Linked DNA regions of Homo sapiens: region 1 is linked to region 2. Evidence: promoter capture Hi-C in 16 types of primary human blood cells and fetal thymus (Javierre and others, 2016). All regions are on one chromosome and are shown on one strand. The core of a region is centred on a gene start or on the middle of the fragment in contact, and the rest is flanking DNA. Distances in the headings are between cores, read along the strand shown.

Region 1 (6,653 bases), core at 2,831-5,330, 160 kb before region 2:
AATAAAAAAAATTATATGGTAAGATGTGTGTAGATTATATGCAAACACAATGCTATTTTATATCAGGGACTTGAGCATCCCTGGACTTTGGTGTCCTTGCGGGTTCTGAAACAAATCCCCCATGGACACTAAGGAACAACTGTAACATGAAGATGGTATGAGATTTGCACACGAAACACCAGCATAAAGCACAGTGCCCCAGCTAGATGTAACCTCCTGCTTGACTCTGATCTCTCTAGCAGTCAATGCAGAGAGGGGAACAGAAACAAACAGATATAAGATTTGGTGGCTGTAAGCTCAAAAGGAAACCAGTGGGTTAGAAAAGGCACTATTCCTGGTATTGCTATCTGGAGGGATTATTTTCCATGGGACAAAAGAATAAGAAAGGCCTTAGCTGTTCAGAGCCTACAGTGTCCTTTATGAGACAGAATGGACACAGGTGAAACAGGAGGAATAATAACAGGCCGTGTGCGCAGGTTTGTGGTGTTGTCCATGGGAAGAGGGGATGGGACACTGAGGAACTGTCAAGGCAATGCTGTGGGGAAAGGGTGAAAACAGCTAAGATTAGGGGAGAGAGAGGTGGAAACGCAGGGATGTCATCCAGGGAGCGAGATAGCAGGAAAGAGGCAGGAAGCTGCAATTTGTACATTGCCAGTGGGAGGGGATGTGGAGTGGGGGAGGGCTGAGAAAGAAAGGGTTAAACGACAACATAAAACAAGCCCTCACTATAGGCACCGCATGCCTCTAAGTGTTATTGATATAACTCCTCTCATTTAATTCTCACACAAAACACCTGTGGCATAGCTACCATTCACTGCATCCATTTTACAGACCAGGCAATTTGAAAGGAAGAGAGGATTTAGGCGCCATACTCAAGGTTACCTGGGTAAGAAATGATGGAGCAAGAATGTCACCCATGGGACCACACCCCTGGTGAGTACCAGACGCTGCCTCTAATTCGAGTTCTTATCAGAAACAATAAAAGGAACCTGGGAAGTTGTGTGCTCAGGGCACCAGGGCCTTGGAATCCAGGAAAGTGCTGAGATGGGGTGTGAGAGTCACCAGACTTCTTAGCAAAGAAACATAATTCTACTAAAACAAGGTATGGGTACAGTGGTAGGGTTTCCTTGCCTAGTTGCTGCAACAAAGTTTCCTGACATAGGGTTTGCAGTGTAATGTTCTAGCTTTTAAACTTTCCTAGGGCACAAAGCTTGTGCCATCTCCCCACTGATGTCAACAGCACTGTCTATGAATAGAAATGTTCACTCTGCAAGCTCAGAGGCTCAACATATAACTTGAAATACTACATAGCAAGATGGATTATCATAATATTTTCCAGGAACTGAGTATCTCAAAAATGACAAGACAAAGATAACAGACAGGTATTCTGAATTGCCTTCTATTCCGAATTTAATGTTTTCCTAAACAAAATTACCAGGTTAGTTACAGTATTTGAAATAGTTCTGAATAAATCATGTTTCTCTAGCCTCAAGCATGCAGGTGAAATACGCATATCTCTCTGGTGTCTATCTGTCCATACAAATTCCCGAAACATGAAATTGACACAGGAAACCAATTAAAAAACAAAATTTAATGTTATCTTTTCAGTTACTGAGCTTGCATTTGTAGTCGCTACAACAGTGTGACATTTAATAGTGACTACTTGAGGGTGAATAGTTCAATATGGTGAATATGAAGTACGATGCAGGGCTTATGGCAAGGATTAGATGCACATGGAGCCAAGGACTTGGATCTTAAAGAACAAGTGACAAAACAGGAAGCAGAATGAAATATCTTAATATCATAATATCTTGTAGGTAAATTTAAATTTACATAAAGACACACATAGAAAAGAAAAATACTTGAAACAAATGGAGGGGAAGGGGAATGAAGGTGAGAATGGAGATGTGAGAACCAGGAAAGAAAGGATTGCTTCTGTTTTACTCTAGCTAAGAATTTTTCCAAAGTCTTTAAAATGGCCTATTAGAATTTTTTTTTTTCTATTTAGCTGGGCTTCAATCAATATAGAATTTTCTTGTCCATTTTTCTTTTTTTTAGATATAGGGCCTCATTCTGTTGCCCAGGCTGGAGTGCAGGGGCGTGATCACAGCTCCCTCAAACTCCTGGCCTCAAGCAAGCCTCCCGCCTCAGCCTCCTGAGTAGCTGGGACTACAGGAGTGTGTCACCATGCCCAGCTATGTTTTTTAAAAAAAATTTTTTGTAGAGAGCGGGGGTCTCGCTATGTTGCCTAGGCTGGTCTCAAACTCCTGGCCTCAGGTGATCTTCCTGCCTTGGCCTCTCATAGGGTTAGGATTAAGGATAAGCTACTACAACCAGCCAGAATTAATTTTCTAAATGCGTAAATTATCTTAAATGCTATGTTAAAACAATCTTATGCTTGCTATTACTATGCCTCCTGTTAAAAGTCAAGTTCTGTGTCTTTTTTGTTTTCGTTTTTGAGAGAGGGTCTTGCTCCTTGCCCAGGCTGGCATGATCACAGCTCACTGCAGCCTCCATATCCGGGGTTAAAGTTGATTCTCCAACCTCAGCCTCCTCAGTAGCTCAGACTACAGGCAGGTGCTACACTACACCTGGCTAATTTTTGTATTTTTGGTAGAGACAGGGTCTCGCTGTGTTGCACAGGCTAGTCTCAACCTCCTGGACTGAAGTGATCCACTTGCCTTGGCTTCCTAAAGTGCTGGGATTACAGGCATGAGCCACTACACCTGGCCTAAAAGTCAAGGTCTGATCCTTTGTAATATAGTCCTTAGGTTGACTCAGAATTCCCAAAGTCGATTCAGGAGAATCTAGTACTAAGTATTATCAACTGAATCTATTTTCAACTTGAAATCTGACTGTGTTCCTGTGAGATCCCCTACACAGCTCATCACTGTATTCATATTTAGCTCTTCCTCCAGGACTAGGTATTTAAAAATGAGATCAATATAAAGAAGGTACCATATATTTGTAATTAGAGTTCTGAGAGACCTTTCCAAATAGTTAGCTTCTCCTAAGTCAAAAGAGAATTTACCAAGAAACAAATAAAAATGAAATATCCAAATTCCAGAAAGCATAGCATTTCTGAGTCATATATCCCCTGAAGCTCAGAGCTAGGGCAGCCAAGATGACTTGGAACGCCTGATTCTCCCAGTATAGACAAACACCAGGATGTGGTAGCCACCATGTACGAGAACCACTGTGTGTAGGAACAAAAAGGCCACCAAGCATGAGCGAGGCAGCTCCTTTTCTGCACCAGGAAAGCACAAGACAAGCACATCTTACCACAATAAATGAAACAAACTGGTCAGAGTAGACATATGCCTATGTCGTGAAAGTCAAGGAAGATCAGAAGATTGAGTACTTTGGTACAAAAAAAAAGAAACGCTCCCTTTCTCCCATCTTACCTGAAGCCTGGGAGCCCCATGCCAACTTTTCATGCAGAAAGAATTATTTTGACAAAGGAAGATTAATGTCTTTGTGCTGGAAGAACATTTTTAAATACTGTCATACATATCTTTGCAAATTCTCCTTGTTCTCTCTCCCTAAACTTTAGTTTCATTTACCCTAAAGAACTGCTGAGAATTATGGGTTTCTGCATATGAATTCTTGTTAAGTTACTAACCCATGGTGCTCTTGCAGACATGTCACTCTATCATAATTCATTTCAACATTAATAATCCTACCCACACATCCTCCTCCTGTGGCCGGGGAGTCATCTCGCTTATCCTGTAATGTGCCTTTAATTGCCCCTGGGCAGAAGTGAACTATAAACAGTCTGTCAAAGCTTTAACTGGGATATCCTGTTAAAGCACTTTAAATAAATATTGCCATCTTTTGTAGAAAACAGAAGAAATAAAAAGAAACAAGACCATGTCCACAGGTGGTTTTCTGTCAGAATTAGATGATCTTCACATTTTCATTTAGAACATGAATAGTTTTTTCATCAAGCTGAACAAAAACGGTTCTTATTATTATATTCATACAGCAACTTCACCCAGTATCTGCTGGCTTCAAAAGCCTTGGCAAATTATGTGTTTTACAATTTGCTGACCTAATAAGAAACTTGTATAAACTAAAAAAAAAAAAAAAAAAAAAAAAAAAAAAAAAGTAAAACCAAAGCAACTCATCAGATGGTATCATGTTTTTATTGTGTTTTGTTTTAAAATAAGCAGGCATCAATGGTATATAAAACAGTAAAAAATAAGAATTTTCTGCTTATTCTATTTCACCTATCTGAAAAAAAAATACTTCCTCTGGACTAAAATTCTAAAAATGAGAATTCCTTCCCAAAGGGACATCTTTTGAAAAAATGGATCAGTTATAAGAGAGACTGTAGAAATCTTTAGTTGTCTTTGGAAAGTCAGAGATAAGCTTAAACTGAAATGTTGCTAAGGTAAGATTAATGGTTACCAAACTTTTCTCGAGAGTAAATGCTTCCCTAGGTTGGCACAAATCAATTAAATGACTCCAACTTCAGCACTACTGATTTTCTATAGAAAATAATCTTAAAAGTTAGGGAAATAAAAATCGAGATGGTGATTGGAAGTTGCCTCATCCACCAATGACTCCACTTCCCAAGCCTAACTAACAATTGCAAATGTGGATGGACCTTTCCCAAATTTGGAGTTTGTCCCCGATGTCTCTAGAGGTCTCTTCACCTTTCACGTTGATAGACTTTCTAAGTTTATATCATATAGCCTAGGGTGGCACAACTTTTTGCAATATCCTTTTCCTTAGTCACATATGAGTTCCAAACTATTAAGATTAAGACCAAGTGCCAAATTGCTCTAAAGCAATTCTATCTTTGCTGGCCTGCCCAAGGAAGATTTTTATCTCAGAATGTTTATTCTCTCTAAGTGTCACCAAACAAAACAAATGAAAAATTCACATCTCAAAATGTCTGGGGCAGGGCATTCTGACTCTGAGCTCAACATAGCTTCTCCCTTCACTTAGCCCTTCTCAGTTCAACCCAAAAGCTATACACAGAAAAGCTGCTTAATTTATAACATTTTTTGAAAGCAGGTCACTGAATTACTACTGACAGCCACGTGAATTTCTGCCAGGGTAAGTGGAAAAAAGTGACCAAAAGGGAGAACCAAATGAGTGTGCAGGCATCCAGGGGAGCGGGTCAGCACAGCACACTAGATGAAAAAGGCTCGGAAAGATCTCTGTCGTGTGCAGACGGTTTCCATGTCTGTTTAAATGACAACACGAACAGCAGAAAAATAGAGAAAACCAGTAAATCAGTTGCTTCATCTCCATCATACCGCGAGGTCTGACTACCTTTATTTCAAGGAATCAGTTGAATCAGCTCTCTCTTTTGGTGACCCACTGACACAGTTCTGTAAGAGTGGGACAGGGAATAGCATGCCAGAGGAAATAATATACCACAATGAAAAAAACAAACAAAAACCCGAAAAACAAAAAACCACCCTGGCCTTTGGTGAGGGCTCCTTGCCTGCATTTCAAGGACAGGGACTATGTGGCGACTCTGCCTAATAATATCACCTGTGTATAGTGGCAAGTGTGCCGCCATCTTGAAAGCAATATTATATCCATTTGATCTTCACAGTAACCTGTGTGATGAGTGAAGGATATTCCATGGTCCCAAACTTATACTTTGCTTAATTGTGTTCACTTGATGAATTAAAGTCATGCCGTTTGAAAACAGTGGAGTCTAGCCTGGAACCCAGGTTCTGTTGCCCCCATGCTTGTTTATTATACTGCTCAGCAGTGCCTATCAGGCAAAAAGGGCTTGCCTTATTTTTTTGAAAAATATAAAAGTTCATAGACAAATAACAAAATAGGAGCAATCTAAAACACGCTGAACCGAAAGCTGAGGGGAGTATCAACTGCTAGCAACATTTTTAAATTCTTTGATACTGTGTAAATGTGTTTAAATAATAATGGCTGGAGAAATTTCTTTAACTTAAACTCCTTGTTTTAAAAAAGTCAGGCCATGGGCAAGCCAAGTCAGGAAATTAAAATTTAAGGCTGTCATTCTGTGGTTACGAAAAAGAGGCAAGTGAGTGAGTAGAAAGCCTATGAACACATCTTTTACACTTGGGTTTTAAATAGGAATAAAAGGAAATTATAATTTAAGAGAAAAATACAGAAGTTCAGAAGGCTTATAACTTAAAGCACGGTTTTTGATCTACCAATAAAAATGTCTACCTTAAGGAAAGTTGATTAGCATAATGTGCTTTTTTCAAAACAAAGGAAATGGAAAGCACGCTGAGGAAAGCAGGCAACTCTTTTCTCCTTGCTGAGGAGGGAGCTATGCGTCTGCCTCGGTCTCTCTCGGGTAACTACTGAAGGGCAGAATCCAGCAGCATTCCACAGTGCCTTTCATACCACAAATGCACGCTTTCTAGGCTGAATGTTTTCTCTACTTCCTCATTTGTGACCATTTTATAAGCTTCTAGACTCTATCCTCTACCCCACACAATGTGGAGAAAAGGCTGAATACTGACAATGATATGACATGAAAATCTCATATATTCTGAGCCACATGAAAGACACAAATATGAAAAACATCTCAGAACATTTTTATTATAAGAATATCCTGTTTGCTTTTACAATTTAAAATTAAAACAACTGTGAAAATATAAAAGAAACATAACAATTATAAGATTATGTAGCTGTTGCAAATT
Region 2 (6,108 bases), core at 1,212-3,711:
TATTTTTTGAGTCGGAGTTTTGCCCTTGTTGTCCAGGCTGGAGTGCAGTGGCACGATCTCAGCTCACTGCAACTCCTGCCTCCTGGGTTCAAGCGATTCTCCTGCCTCAGCCTCCCGAGTAGCTGGGATTACAGTCACCCACCACCACGCACAGCTAATTTTTTTTTATTTTTAGTGGAAGATGGGGGTTTCACCATGGTGGCCAGGCTGGTCTGGAACTCTTGACCTCAGGTGATCCACCCGCCTCAGCGTCCCAAAGTGCTGGGATTACAGGCGTGAGCCACGGTGCCCTGCCCACACCTTACAGAGTCCTGAGGGGAGTGGAACAATCCTAACTTTTTCTGAAGAAGTCAGTGAAGGCTTTGCCATTGAGGCTCTACTGTTTGAGATGCAGTAGATGCTGTGCAATATTTAGAGTTTTAAAGGAGTGCGTTATTGACGACCTAAGGGCAAATTATATATTATCTGACAGAAGTAACGTTTTCTTATTCATTGTTCCTGTAGTACTTTGCTTATGTGGTCTATAACTCATTCACTTCATACCTCAGTGAGTTGTAGTTAAGCTTGTAATTGACAATTACAGTGGAGTGGAAGCTGCCATTTGTATTTTAATAACACAATTTTTTTGGGGGGGTGCAGAGTCTCACTCTGTCTCCAGGCTGGAGTGCAGTGGCACAATCTTAGCTCACTGCAACCTCTGCCTCCCGGGTTCAAGCGATTCTCCTGCCTCAGCCTCCCGAGTAGCTAGGACTATAGGCACGCGCCACCATGCCTAGCTAATTTTTGTATTTTTAGTAGACAGGGAGTTTCACCATGTTGGCCAGAATGGTCTTGATCTCTTGACCTCATGATCCGCCTGCTTCAGCCTCCCAAAGTGTTGGGATCACAGGAGTCAGCCACCGCGCCCGGCCAATAACACAATATTTTTAAGCACCTACTATGATCTGTGATAAATCCTCTTATACGGATACATTATTCACAGCTCGCGAGTTAGTGTCTCTATCTCCTTTTTACAAAGAAACAGGCTGCAAAATAAAAATTACCTAAGGGTGTAAAATAATAAAAACACTTAAGCCATGTAACATTAGCAACTATCTCTATTTTTCTGTAAACTTTTATTTTGGAGCCACATTAAACAACTATTTTTGTAGTCAAACACATTCAAATGCATGAATAAATTACGTTCCAAGCCACTTACAAATATAAACTAAATTTGGATTACTCTTATTTCTTTCTATTGTGCATAGCAAAAAGCTGAGGAAGCTTTTAATTATCTCTAGAACTCAACATTTGCCTTTGATGTGAAGTATCATCATTTCAAAAACACAAGCTAAAACTGAAGTGGTGTTCAGTATAATGAGGTTGGTTTCTTATATAGCATTATTAACTTTATGTTCTGAGAAATGAGGACATTTAATAGCAGGTTATAGATTCATGCATCAACAACATTCAGCATTACCACCTAAGGCCAGTGCTATGTCTAAAAAGCTATATTTAATACTCGCAATGTTACACACAATTATGTCTTCAATGAATGTTCAGTGAATCCTTCTTTATGATGCTGATAAATATCGTCTATATAGCTAAAATCGTTTACATAGCTAAGGGCAAATCGCTGTTTACTAGGGATAGTAATGCCGAACGGAGTGAATACATGAAGTCGTAAATTATATGAATGCAGGGTGACCTAATATAGCCAGGGTCTCAATTTAATAATATATACCCGTTTAAAAATAGCCTTATTTCCTTCTCTAAAGCTTGGACTCTTTTTTTTTTTGAGATAAGGTCTCACTCACTTTGTCGCCCGGGCTGGAATGGAGAGGCCCGATCTCAGCTCACTGCAGCCTCGACCGCCTGGGCTCAGGGGATCCTCCCACCTCAGCCTCTTCAGTAGCTGGGACTACAGGTCTGCACCACAGGGCCGGCTAGTGTTTGTATTTTTTGTAGAGACGGAGCCTCGCTATGTTGCTCAGGCTGGTCTCGAACACCTGAGTTCAAGCGATCCGCCCTCCTAGGCTTCCCAAAGTGCTGGGATTACAGGAAGGAGCCACCGCACCGGCCTGGGCTAAATCTGATTCCAAGTTTACACAAGTTTGTTGAATGCCCACTGTGTGCTTAATGAAAGATCAAAGTTTGATAAAACAAGGTCCCTGCTCTTACTGAGCGCATAGCTTTCTCAGATTATCAGGAACCAAATTTGGAAAATAATCCAGAACGCTGGCGTAGGTAGCTCAAGGTTCCCCGCTTGCAACATTTAGTCCAAACCAGTCAATTCTAGGCGGCGGATTTCCCCATCCCCCTCCGTCGCCCAACCTTTGGGTGGGGCCACTCCCAAACGCTCCCTCCCCTCGTCCCGCCATGCACAGCAGTGCGCATGCGCCCTCAGGGAGGCGGACAGTGACCCTGAGGCATTGCCGTCGCGCGGTGCACAGCTAAGACGTCGCGCTTGCGCAGGCGCTCGGCGCAGAGGCCTGCGGGAAGCCAAGATGGCGCATAGGGGTTCTCCAGGCTGCAGTTGGCGCCTTATCAGTATCTAAGCGGAGTGTTTTGGAAGGAGTTAAGGGGCTGTGGCAAACGCCCTCTCCGCCGTCATGGCCCGGCATCGGAATGTTCGAGGCTATAACTACGATGAAGGTAGGTGGCAGGGTCATGCCGGGACGTTCTTTTCCCGGCTACAGCTGGGATCCTAGCCCGTTGGCATCCACTTCAATCTGTGAGTTTCTCGTCAGTGTTGCCCTGTCGGGATTGGGAGAGCCCCAGTTGGGGAATATAACAGGCCTTCTAGTGCTTTCAAATGCCGTCGTTTTTAAGTCATGATTTCTGCCCTCTGGGGTTGATTTTATTTGGGGAGGGGGAGGTGCTGCATAGCGTCATATGGGTAGGATATTGGTGAGGTTGAGATCCGGTGATATTTAGGCACGTAAGCATTATCACCTCTTCCATTGTTTCCTCCCATGTTGGGCACTAACGTGCCTGCTTCTAGCTCCTCTCTCCCAGATCCCCTTTGAGAAATGTCCATGAAACGTTGCTTATTTGTAAAACACAGATTGACTTAATACATTCAACGGACGTGTACCTGTGTTAGATTTACATGGTAAACCTTTTGTGTATGTCCATACATACCTAGTGCAGAATCAGTTTGCGCTAATTTATTTTTCAACGAATTTCAAAGTGGAAACTTAGGAGACGGTAGAAAAGACACATGTTAAAAAGGCCCAAAGAATGAGTCGATCAGATGGATCTTGAAGTTTATACTTAGTTCTTGGCTGGTAATGCTTGATATAAATGTATTTTGAAATGTAAATAAACGGCAGTACTAGAGGAAAGAGTGTATAGGAAAGGACTTTTTGATATTAAAAAATGAAATAAAAATGTCTGTATGAATGTTCTGTAGGAGTTAACAGGAGTTAGAATTATTTTTAGGAGGAGCACATCCCTCTTCATGCAGTAGATAACTATAGGCATCACCAAGCATCACATAAACTAAAAATATAAACAAAAATGAACTAATGCAGGAGAAGAATAAAGAACTATGCTTTACGAAGTGCAGAACATGTAGTGCTTAATATGTTGGTGATTGTCATTGGCACCCCAGTAGATTATTATAGAACATCAGTATGCTTTAACTAGAGTGAGGGCAGCTAACACCCTGTTCTCCATTTGGAACCTGTGACCTCAGTCCGTCTAGAACATGTGAATTTTCTGGTGGTTACTTTAGAATGGAGGCCCTTTTAAATAAATATTGCAGTGGATGGTATTGCATGTGGACCATTGTCACCTAAGAAATGACTTTAGATTGAGAGAGATTTTTGCAAATATAAAGTACATGAATAGGCCTATTTATTATTCATTCATTTCTTTAATAGTTGTTTATCATTTCCTCAACCACCATTAAGTTAGTGCTTAGAGTACTGTTCTAAGCTTTGAGGACTGAAAGTAAGATATTTGAGGGTGGTCTAAAAGGAGAAGATTATACGAGTTACAGATTATTAGAGTATGAAAAATGCTACAAAAGGTACTGAGAAAACGCTATGGGAGGGATACACAGATGAGAACACTTAATTCAGAATGGATTGGGGGGAATTTAAGCAGGATTTCTACGTTAAGGAATGCTTCATGGAGGAGAGGTGGTTGGCCTCAGGGAGCACCTTGGCTTCTTGAGGTTAGGTTGTCATGTTGTCATGCTTCTTTGAAACAATTGGTGACATCATAACCAAGCTGTTCCTGTAACATTAAGGAGGTTCATCCCCTTTTCTTGTTTATAAAAGTTGTACTCATTAAGGTCCAGTTTATTTCTCTTCTTCCCAGTTAGGCTTTCTCTTGAATTCTCAGAATAATAATTTAAAAATTCTGTTAAGAAATATAACCTCATTAGAGAGAGTTTGTGTTCTAAAACCTACTGGTTCCGCTACTTAACTCCCACTTTGTTTTTCTCTGTAATTTATGTAATACTTTACATGACTGCCTCAGTCACTGATTTAAAAGTCTCAGGAAGGCAAAATCCATACTTTAAGTAGCTGGCACAATGTTCTTTACATGTGGTAAATATTTCATAATTTTGTTGATTGAGGAAACAAACTATGAAGATTGCAGGAAAGAATTCTCTTCATCTTTATATGTTGTGGCACTTTAGGGTCAACTTCAGCATTGACAAACTGACCTAGTAAAAAAGAGTTTTTTTTCTTTTTTTTTTTTTTTTAAGAGACAGGATCGCACTTTGTTGGTTGGCCAAGCTGGAGTGCGAGTGCAGTGGCATGATCATAGCTCTCTGTAACCTCCAACTCCTGGGCTCAAGCAATCCTCGTGCCTCAGCCTCCCGAGTAGCTAGGTCTACAGGCATGTGCCCCCATGCCCGGTTAATTTTTTATTTTAGTAGAGACAGCATCCGGCTGTGTTGCCCAAGCGAGATCCTCCCTCCTCGGCTTCCCAAAGTACTGGAATTACAGGTGTGAGCCACGATGCCTGGCCTATTGTTGTCTTCAATATCTAAAAATACTTTGTTTGTGAATGGCCCCTTGTTTATTTGCAAATAAATTTTTATTAACTTGGGATTGTGATCTAATAATTTATTTAATCATATATGTTTTTGCCCAATAGTAGCATTTATCTAATTTTTCTTTGCTGTAAGCATTTGGTCTCAGCCTTTGAGCATGCTGTTCCTGCTGCATGAATACCCTCAGAAACTAGCTAACTCTATCCTTTGGAATTGGTTTGGATATTATATTAATGGGGATCTTTCCCTAGCTGCCCCACTCCCGGTTCTAGTTTTGTCATTCATGTGTGTGTTCCCAAATTGCTCTGTGTTTCTCACATCAGGCACTTGTCACATGGTTTTGTAATTGCCCATTATCTTGTGTGTATTCCTTGTCAGATTTTAGGTGCAGTGATAACTGGAAATGTGTTCACTGTTATACCACAGTTGTCTCAACTACTCCCTGGCATGGTGTTAGTGTTTGTCAAATGAAATTTATGTAAATATATTTATGTTCTTTGTGGGTTTTTAGTTGTAATTAGTTTGATTCATTAATTTATAATAAAACAAATATTAATCTAGTGCCCCATATGTGCCAGGTAGTTGGCTAAACCAAGTCTTGCCCTGAAGAAGCTGATAGTCTCATGTAGTGAACAGGCGTAGCGCTCTGTAAATTGGGTAAGTGTGCTGGAGGGTAACAGTAGCAGAGGGGCTTACTGCTTTACCCAGAGTGGTCAGGGAAGACTTGTGCAAAGAGGAGACATTTGAGCTGGAACCTTAACTAGCAGAAAGAAATGGCCTCGGAAAATCTAGGCAAAGAGCATATCCCAGGAAGCAGAAAAAAAGGGCAGTTAGCCATCAGCAGGTGGGCATAGGGAGTTTAGGGTAAGTTGGTTTGTATAGATGTTACCTAGCTCTCCATAAAGAAATACTACTTTCATGATCTATTATATACCCCCATGTTCTGTGGAAGAGAAGTGCTTTGGTTTTAGAGGGCACATGGTGAAAAAAATGGTTTATTTCAGATTTTTGTCAACACTGGAGAGACTAAGTATTTTTTTTTCTTTTTTTCTTTTTTTTTCTTTTTGAGACGGAGTCTTGCTCTGTCGCCCAGGCTGAGTGCAGTGGCGCGGTCT

What was found. The method cuts DNA at HindIII sites, captures the fragments that hold promoters and counts their contacts. A CHiCAGO score of 5 or more calls a contact.
Region 1: a fragment that was not itself captured here is called in contact with the fragment with the promoter of HBS1L in region 2 in 2 of 17 cell types (naive CD4 T cells and non-activated CD4 T cells); the score reaches 6.1 in naive CD4 T cells.

What each region holds. Positions count from the first base shown.
Region 1 is chr6:135,209,679-135,216,331 of GRCh38, reverse strand. The region is part of intron 15 of MYB (MYB proto-oncogene, transcription factor); the gene reads right to left. LOC105378011 (a long non-coding RNA gene) reads left to right here. Exons shown (of 3, transcript XR_001744368.2): 2 at 832-933. Among named protein-coding and RNA genes, the nearest start is that of MIR548A2, 26 kb to the left of the region's middle. The HindIII fragment of the contact is 587 bases long and covers 3,787-4,373 here.
Region 2 is chr6:135,051,175-135,057,282 of GRCh38, reverse strand. HBS1L (HBS1 like translational GTPase) reads left to right here and starts at 2,461. Exons shown (of 18, transcript NM_006620.4): 1 at 2,461-2,634. The coding sequence starts at 2,592. LOC124901405 (a long non-coding RNA gene) reads right to left here and starts at 2,390. Exons shown (of 2, transcript XR_007059775.1): 1 at 1,797-2,390. RefSeq lists an enhancer at 2,253-2,302. The HindIII fragment of the contact is 2,164 bases long and covers 1,760-3,923 here.